Regions from separate parts of the Homo sapiens genome. Here region 2 is linked to region 1. Evidence: promoter capture Hi-C in 16 types of primary human blood cells and fetal thymus (Javierre and others, 2016). All regions are on one chromosome and are shown on one strand. Each heading gives the region's core, a stretch centred on a gene start or on the middle of the fragment in contact. The rest is flanking DNA. Distances are from core to core; before and after follow the strand shown. Region 1 holds the start of CEP170 (centrosomal protein 170). Region 2 overlaps LOC105373262 (a long non-coding RNA gene).

The links. The method cuts DNA at HindIII sites, captures the fragments that hold promoters and counts their contacts. A CHiCAGO score of 5 or more calls a contact.
Region 2: a fragment that was not itself captured here is called in contact with the fragment with the promoter of CEP170 in region 1 in 5 of 17 cell types (neutrophils, fetal thymus, monocytes and 2 more); the score reaches 12.5 in neutrophils.

What each region holds. Positions count from the first base shown.
Region 1 is chr1:243,252,228-243,256,530 of GRCh38, forward strand. CEP170 (centrosomal protein 170) reads right to left here and starts at 3,054. Exons shown (of 20, transcript NM_014812.3): 1 at 2,813-3,054. SDCCAG8 (SHH signaling and ciliogenesis regulator SDCCAG8) reads left to right here and starts at 3,814. Exons shown (of 18, transcript NM_006642.5): 1 at 3,814-4,013. The coding sequence starts at 3,947. The HindIII fragment of the contact is 10,208 bases long and covers 1,574-4,303 here.
Region 2 is chr1:244,273,174-244,277,045 of GRCh38, forward strand. All of the region lies in intron 1 of LOC105373262 (a long non-coding RNA gene), which reads right to left. Among named protein-coding and RNA genes, the nearest start is that of SPMIP3, 78 kb to the right of the region's middle. RefSeq lists a silencer at 1-115. The HindIII fragment of the contact is 6,583 bases long and covers 1-3,872 here.

The sequences.
Region 1 (4,303 bases), core at 1,804-4,303:
AGATACTTTAGTTAGCAATTAAATATCAGGTTGTCTGTCAGATACTTAGTTGAAGAGTACACTGCTTAACATCCCAGTGTTTGGGACAGATAAGAAAGAAAAGTCTTTACCTATTAATTAGTATAGAAAAAATATTTTTCAGGAATACAATTTTGTGGAATAAAAAACATTTTGACAAAAAAGCTTAAGCATATACAATATTTAGTACTAGATGAGCATTATCTAATTGCAATCAGATACAATAATAAAACTAGTTCTTTTTTTCAGTAGATAAAAAGGAACAAGAAACTGATACTTGGAACAAATCAAATAAATCACGAAGCACAGAATTTTAAAAAGTACCATAACAGCATTAATATGCAGAATGTATGCTAAGGTTTACAGTATAAATTTCACTATTCTAATGTTAAAATAGGGAACAGGCAGATTATTTCCATACAAAATAATCTCAGAACACAATGAAATTTACCAGTAAAATACATTTAAAGCATGATTGAATATAATCCCACATACTGAAATTTAGTTACAGATTTTTAAAGTTGAAATTTAAGATAAATAATAAATCCTTTAAAGAAGTCTATTAAAATGCAACGTAAAATTAAACGATTAAAATTATAAGGGAAGAAAAAAGCACTTTATGGCAAAATCAACCCAATAAAAAACATAAAGTTAATATATCTTAAAATGTAAATTCTAGTTTAAGTTAAAAGTAATCACTAATAACTCATTAATGATTACAACTCATTAACTGTGGCAAAATAAACATCATAGGTTCTTGTTATGCGGAAATTTTATTTTTAACACAGCCTATAGAGTTGATCATCATACTATTATAAAATACTATTGATTTTCAAGAAATAATATTAAAACCTACCGTTAAGTAGCTACCATTAGGTAGTAGGGAAAACACTGCAACACTTCGTTTTTATGAAAAGCACATGTTAGGACATCTTTCCTCATGTAGTAAGTTACTTTATGAAAGTAAAGGTCCATTTTAGGAGGATTACTACTTTTACATCACAAAGGCAAGAACTAGATTAATCACGGTGAGAATCAAGTTCAGTGATAGTCACAGCCTACTCAGGGAGCACATAGAGAAGCTTTCCATACATTTTCACAAGGTAAAAGGGCTAGGGGGACACAGGAAAGATCACTCTGCAGAATGGACCTTGAGTTTCGTTTGGCTCTGCCTTCGATTAACTGTCTGGCTTGGGCAGACAAGTCAGTTAACTTTCTGAGTTTTAGTGTCTTCCTCTGTCAAGTGCACTTGGGCTCTTCCGTGTTATCTACAAAGTTAGGAAGAGCTAAAGGCAGCCCTAGTTTTACTTTTTAAAAAATAATAACAGAAAAATACATAAGTTGCTATTCATCAGTGTACTGTTTCCAGAGCTGAATTCCTAAGTCTCTGAAGCATACCCAGTTAGGGTTATACCAGTGAAGATCCAGATACTATAGTCATAATGTCACTCTCTCCTCTCCCATTATTCCTCCACCTGCTCCTCCCCATCCTGCTTTATTCTCTCTTCTGGTGTGTTTTAAGAAGCAACGCCAGCAAACGGCTGCATACATTGTAAGCTTAAGGATTAAATCATTTTAAAATATGCATTTTCAATCAAATGTATCATCTGCTTCGCCAAATTCCTCCCAAATGGCTGAATTTTCATTAAGAGAATAAAAATGAGTTAACAACTTCGGTAACAGAAATGTACTGGGCCAGTTGTTTTGTTTGTTTTACTTGCTTAAAAAATAAACGGAAAGATGTATCCATTCCCTCAGGAACATAAATGCATTACCTGCCCAATGAAAAAACAATTCTGCTTGTTCATTTCCCTGACACAACAGCTTCGTTGTCAGGCCCTCTCTAGCCCAGGCTCCAACGTCACCTAGTAATTTTATATTGATCACCTTGGCAGTGCTTGGACTCCAGCAGGCATAGTCCCTGTCTTCCTTACATTCCTCAAAATAAATAAATAAATAAATAAATAAATAAATAAAACTCTACGAAACACCACCGAACAGAGATTCTGTGACTTAGTATACAAATCCCACGTCTTCCCGCCCTGTGTTAGGCAGCTGCAAATGTTATTTTTTCATCGCTTGCATAAAATGGAAGCGAAACGTACCAAAACCCTACATCTGAATCCTAGGACAATGAAGCCGACAGGAAGCCACTCTCTCCTCCCCCGGGTTTACTACAGAGCCAGAGCCTCCACGGGGTGCAGTCGCCAGGCAGGGTGCATGACACCGCGTCTTCCACGCCCTCCCAACGCGTCCAAAAGGTTGCTCGCCTGACCTCGCCAACCGCCTCACACCCCAAAACCAATCACACAAAAGGGATTGGCCCGGGGAGCTGCTCCAATGGGGGAAAAATCCCTTCCCCAGCGGCAGCGCAGCCATTCCCTCCAATGCTCCGCCCGCACCCCTCGCAAACTGCTACGGCGGAGGGGGGAGGGCTGCACAAAGCCAGTCGAAAGCTGAAAATGATTCAATGCACTTAGGGGATGCGGAGGCGGCAGCAAGGGGCTCGGGAAAGCCGGGGGGCCGCAGGACTGGAGCTCCGGGGGGCGGCGGGTGGGGGATGGGAAGGGTGGTCCCGTCAAGCCCCGGGTCCCAGGCGGGCAGAGGGTGGGGGTGGCGGCGCCGCGCGGAGCACCCGGGAAGCGCCCCCTTCGCGGTCCAGCCCCGCACCCCCGCCCCGCGGCGGGCGGCGCCCGAGTCCTCGCCGCAAACCCGAGGAGCAGGATGTGGAAAGCAGCCGCGGCGGTGGCTGCGGCTGCGGCGCCTACACCGAGCAGCCGATCGCATCACTTACCCCTTACCGTGGAGAGAGGGACCGGACGGGGGAGGCGGGGCGCGTCGCGTCCCGTGAGTCTCTCGCACGCCGTCCTCCCCCCACCTCGTCGTCGTCGTCGTCGCCGCTGTTGTCGTCGCTGCCGCTGCGGTCGAGCTCCGGGGCCCTCAGCTCCGCTGGGCAATAACGTTATTCCACACACGCCCCACACATAGCGGTAACGGCAAAGACCGACTGCCTAGTGCGCAGGCGCCTCGGGAAAGGGCGAGGAGCCGGACCCTATCCCCTCCTGCCCAGTTCCAACGATCCCTTACTGCGCAGGCGCCACACACAGACAATGAAAAGGGGTTGTGCGAGGGTCTCACCCACACGCTTTTCCAGCTTGCCCACTGCGCAGGCGTGCCCCGAAAGACCAGCTTGAACAATGAAGAGGACCTCGGCGTTAGGTGGGACCGCAACCAACAAGGACTACAGTTCCCAGCGGGCAGAGCGCCAACTCCAAGTGAAGGTCCGGTTGCTGGGCATGCTAGGAGTTGTAGTGTCGGCCGCCTTTACAATCTAGGCTGTTTGGAAGATTTAGAGCTTCTATTTCTTGAAGATTTATTCGACCGTTTTAAAAAATCTCGCAACTGAAGCAGGGTTCAGAGTTTACTATCTGCGTCCTTGAGTAGCCTGGGGATCAACTGCTGCATATTAGCAAATTTCGAAGCGTCAAGGCCTTCAGTGAGCCCTTTCTGTCATTTGGGTGGTCCAGGCAGCTGAAGAGTGGGATGGAGGCGGGACTAAACCAGGCTGGGCTGGAGGAAAAGGGCGGGGCCTGCAAGCCTGTCTCTTGGCAGCAGGCTCTGGCAGCCAAACCGTCCAAGCTAGCGCCTGGAGCGCAGTGGTTTCTGGGAATTGTAGTGTAACTGGAAGGCCCTGAGGATTGTCGAGCTTGCAGGTTCTGAACGTGAGGACTACAACTCCCGACGTGCAAAGCGAGGGCCAGTGGGTGGGAAGAGCCCCCAAGAGCTCTGTGCGGGATTCTAGGCTCCCCTGTGACAGCCGCGGCAGGAAGCAGGCGGGCGCTCCCCGGCCACAGGCCTGTTGTTCTCGGAAGGGAGAAAGCTGGACATTTCCCCACGTAACTCCCAGCTCTGGGCCTAGAGTGCGTGCATGGCGAAGTCCCCGGAGAACTCTACCCTGGAGGAGATTCTGGGGCAGTATCAACGGAGTCTCCGGGGTGAGTTGCTCCAAACCTCTGTCCCTAGCCCCGAGGTGCCCAGGGCCTAGTGGGCGGGAGCAGACCAGGTGCGTTTCCTAACACCTGGGTTCTGCCCCGTCCACGCTACAGAGGAGCAAGATGGATGTTGCTGTGGTCTTGAGGAGGATGAAATAGTTTGATTTAGTTTTTACAGTTAAGCAACGATGTTTCCTCAGATTCCCGTAGTTACCTCAATCAACTCCTTGATCTTAACTTGGCATCTTTCTCAACCGGCGACAGCAGAAACTCTTGGATAGCTCTATGCCATT
Region 2 (3,872 bases), core at 981-3,480, 1.0 Mb after region 1:
AATGAAGCCAATTTCTCAATCATCGAGGCTACCCTGCCATCTTGTGGCCATGTGAGGGATGCACACGTGTAGATCAATTTCTCAGCATCACAAAACAGTCTAGGTAAGACGTTGGAAGGGTTCTTCAAAATATTCACATGGACTTTCATTTAAGACATTTCTTGTATCGTTTGGGGAAAACATCAATGGGATTTGGAGTCAGAATGTTGGTTCCTGCGTTTAAGCTCTGTCAGTGATTTGTGACATCATCCCTGAGCAAATAATTTCATTTTTAGGAACCTGTTTTCTCATCTGTAAAATGGAGGTCATAATAAATGTTTGATTCTTGGAGTTTTGTAGTGTTTACATAAGATCATGCATATGAAGAGTGCCTTGTCCACTTTAAAATCATATGCACATGAATATATTAAAAATCCCTAGAGAAGTAGTTTCTATCATCATACTTGGTAAAACTTTAGAAACTTGAAATCGGTTTCAATGACTAACCTTACTATAGTCTAAAGCCCTGGCCTCAGAATAAAGAGAAGGACTTTACACTGTCTCATGCTTTCCTAAAGATACATACTGCCAAGTCCTCTCCGTTTTCATTTTTCTGATTTAAGTCAAGTCAGTTTCTTCGGCCTTGCTTCACGGGGCCAGCCAATGAATAATGAGGAGTGTAGATGCGTCTTGGGAGGTGAAATAACTTTGCTTACATGGAATCGCAAAGTGCTCATTAGTGTGGGGGCTTAGGTATTTGGCTCCCTCGTCTTTTGGAAAAAGCCCAAACCAGACACAGCAGCTAAAGGAGCCCTCATAGGATGTCTGTGCTGCACGATGCTGACGCAAGATGACTCATCACACACTAGCTGGGTTTGGCCACTGCTTCTGTGCAGCTGTTTGCAGAAAGCCAAAAATTTCTGGTGCCAAGCTGGGGGCTTGGTGAACAAACCCAAATGTTACTGTCCTCATCTCCTGCTAAATTTCAGTCCTGCTCGGGCCGTGGCCCAACCAGTGTTAAGTCTACTGATGAAAGTCCAAGTCACTGTCCTCTGTGCCCTCTCGTTACTGTGTCCTCAGGTTACTGAATTTATCATTCATCTCACTGATGCATAAGGTAGGCTTAGGGTACATTTGGCAGCAGGATCAATAGTTTTGCAAAGAGAAAATAGATGCCAGCCAAAGGAACATCGAATCCTTGGGCGAATGATGAGGACGGATGACTCATGTCCAGGCCATCTTCCCTCCGGGCTGGGCTCCGCTGTCTCCATACTCACCTTCTGTCTCCAAGTTTGGTTCACTAGGCCCATCCTCAGGAAGCCTCCCTTAGGATCCAGGATGAGTCACCAGCACCCCAAGTGTGCTCGCTGGTGAGGATTATAGGAGGGGGAGGTAGGCTGTGTCTACAGGAGATCCTGGGGCACATCTGGGGGATGGAGGTGAAAGGTTATCCCTCTGTCCTACAGAATGAGGGTCCCCCTTCAATCCCCTAGAGGTGACATGCCAGAACGCCTGAATCAGAGAAGGCACTCATTCCTCCCACCTAACTCTTTTTATTTTTTTTAATACTGAGTCTTGCTCTGTCACTCAGGCTGGAGGGCAGTGGTGGGCTCCCAGATCACTGCAACCTCCGCCTCTCAGGTTCAAGTGATTCTCCTGCCTCAGCCTCCCGAGTAGCTGGGATTATAAGTGCACACCACCATGCCCAGCTAACTTTTGTATTTTTGGTAGAGATGGGGTTTCATCATGTTGGCCAGGCTGGTCTCGAACTCCTGACCTCAAGCAATCCACCTGTCTTGGCCTCCCAAAGTGCTGGGATTACAGGCGTGAGCCATTGCACCCGGCCTCTTCCACCAAACTCTTACAGGGTTATCCCAGAATCTTCCAGAGACACCACCCTGTGGATGCAACCTGGGGCTTTCTTCTCCACAGGCCATGTCTGAAAATAGGAGGTTCTTCCTCTCTTCCACACTGGGAGAGAGATAGCAGTCAGGGAGAGAGAGCAGACGGGGAGAGAGATAGCAGTCAGGGAGAGATAGCAGTCAGGGAGAGATAGCAGTCAGGGAGAGAGATAGCAGTCAGGGAGAGAGAGCAGACAGGGAGAGAGATAGCAGTCAGGGAGAGAGATAGCAGTCAGAGAGAGAGAGAGCAGACAGAGAGAGATAGCAGACAGGGAGAGATAGCAGACAGGGAGAGATAGTCAGAGATAGATAGCAGATGGGGAGAGATAGCAGTCGGGGAGACATAGCAGTCAGGGAGAGAGATAGCAGTCCGACAGAGATAACAGACAGGGAGAGATAGCAGTCGGGGAGAGATAGCAGTCAGGGAGAGATAGCAGTGAGGGAGAGATAGCAGTGAGGGAGAGATAGCAGTCAGAGAGAGAGATAGCAGTGAGGGAGAGAGATAGCAGTGAGGGAGAGATAGCAGACAGAGAGAGAGATAGCAGTGAGGGAGAGAGATAGCAGTGAGGGAGAGAGATAGCAGTCAGGGAGAGATAGCAGTGAGGGAGAGAGATAGCAGACAGAGAGAGAGATAGCAGTGAGGGAGAGAGATAGCAGACAAAGAGAGAGATAGCAGTGAGGGAGAGAGATAGCAGACAGAGAGAGAGATAGCAGTGAGGGAGAGACAGCAGTGAGGGAGAGAGATAGCAGTGAGGGAGAGAGATAGCAGACAGAGAGATAGCAGTGAGGGAGAGATAGCAGTGAGGGAGAGAGATAGCAGTGAGGGAGAGAGATAGCAGTGAGGGAGAGTGATAGCAGTGAGGGAGAGAGATAGCAGTGAGGGAGAGAGATAGCAGTGAGGGAGAGAGATAACAGTGAGGGAGAGATAGCAGTGAGGGAGAAATAGCAGTCAGGGAGAGATAGCAGTGAGGGAGAGAGATAGCAGTGAGGGAGAGAGATAGCAGTGAGGGAGAGAGATAACAGTGAGGGAGAGATAGCAGTGAGGGAGAAATAGCAGTCAGGGAGAGATAGCAGTGAGGGAGAGAGATAGCAGTGAGGGAGAGAGATAGCAGTGAGGGAGAGAGATAGCAGTGAGGGAGAGAGATAGCAGTCAGGAAGAGATAGCAGTCAGAGAGAGAGATAGCAGTCAGGGAGAGATAGCAGTCAGGGAGAGATAGCAGTGAGGGAGAGAGATAGCAGTGAGGGAGAGAGCAGTGAGGGAGAGATAGCAGGCAAAGAGAGAGATAGCAGTGAGGGAGAGATAGCAGGCAAAGAGAGAGATAGCAGTCAGGGAGAAAGAGAGCAGTCAGAGAGAGATAGCAGTCAGGGAGAGAGAGAGCAGTGAGGGAGAGATAGCAGGCAAAGAGAGAGATAGCAGTCAGAGAGAGAGATAGCAGTCAGAGAGAGATAGCAGTAAGGGAGAGACAGCAGACAGAGAGGGATAGCAGACAGAGAGAGAGATAGCAGTGAGGGAGAGAGAGCAGTCTGGGTTTTCCTTCAGGAAGGTGCGAGAAGGTGAGGTTTTCTTTAGAGGTTTTTCATGTTCTTTTTAAACACTTAACATGAGCCAAATGAGAGTGGGAATTAAAGGTATGATGGCCAAATCTGACCTGAAGCACCCACTGTCTAACAAGAGCGGAACTGGTGATGGCCACAATAATACTGCAGACATCTCTTGGAGTTTTCTGTAATACATGGAAAAACACCAGCCTTGGAAACTCAGACATCTGGGTTTGAGTGCCAGCCACGAGGCTAAAAGATTCCAGAAGGCCAGAGGGGGAGAGTGTCAGAGTCCACTGCTAGACTGACTGGATGTCTTCACATACAGGACTGGCAAACGGACACTTGTAAGTTTGGAAAATTTGACAGCAAAACAACAGAGAAGGGGGCACTGCCAGCTTTAAATACAATCCAATGAATTAATTTATTTGGAGAAATAATCTCATTTTAGGA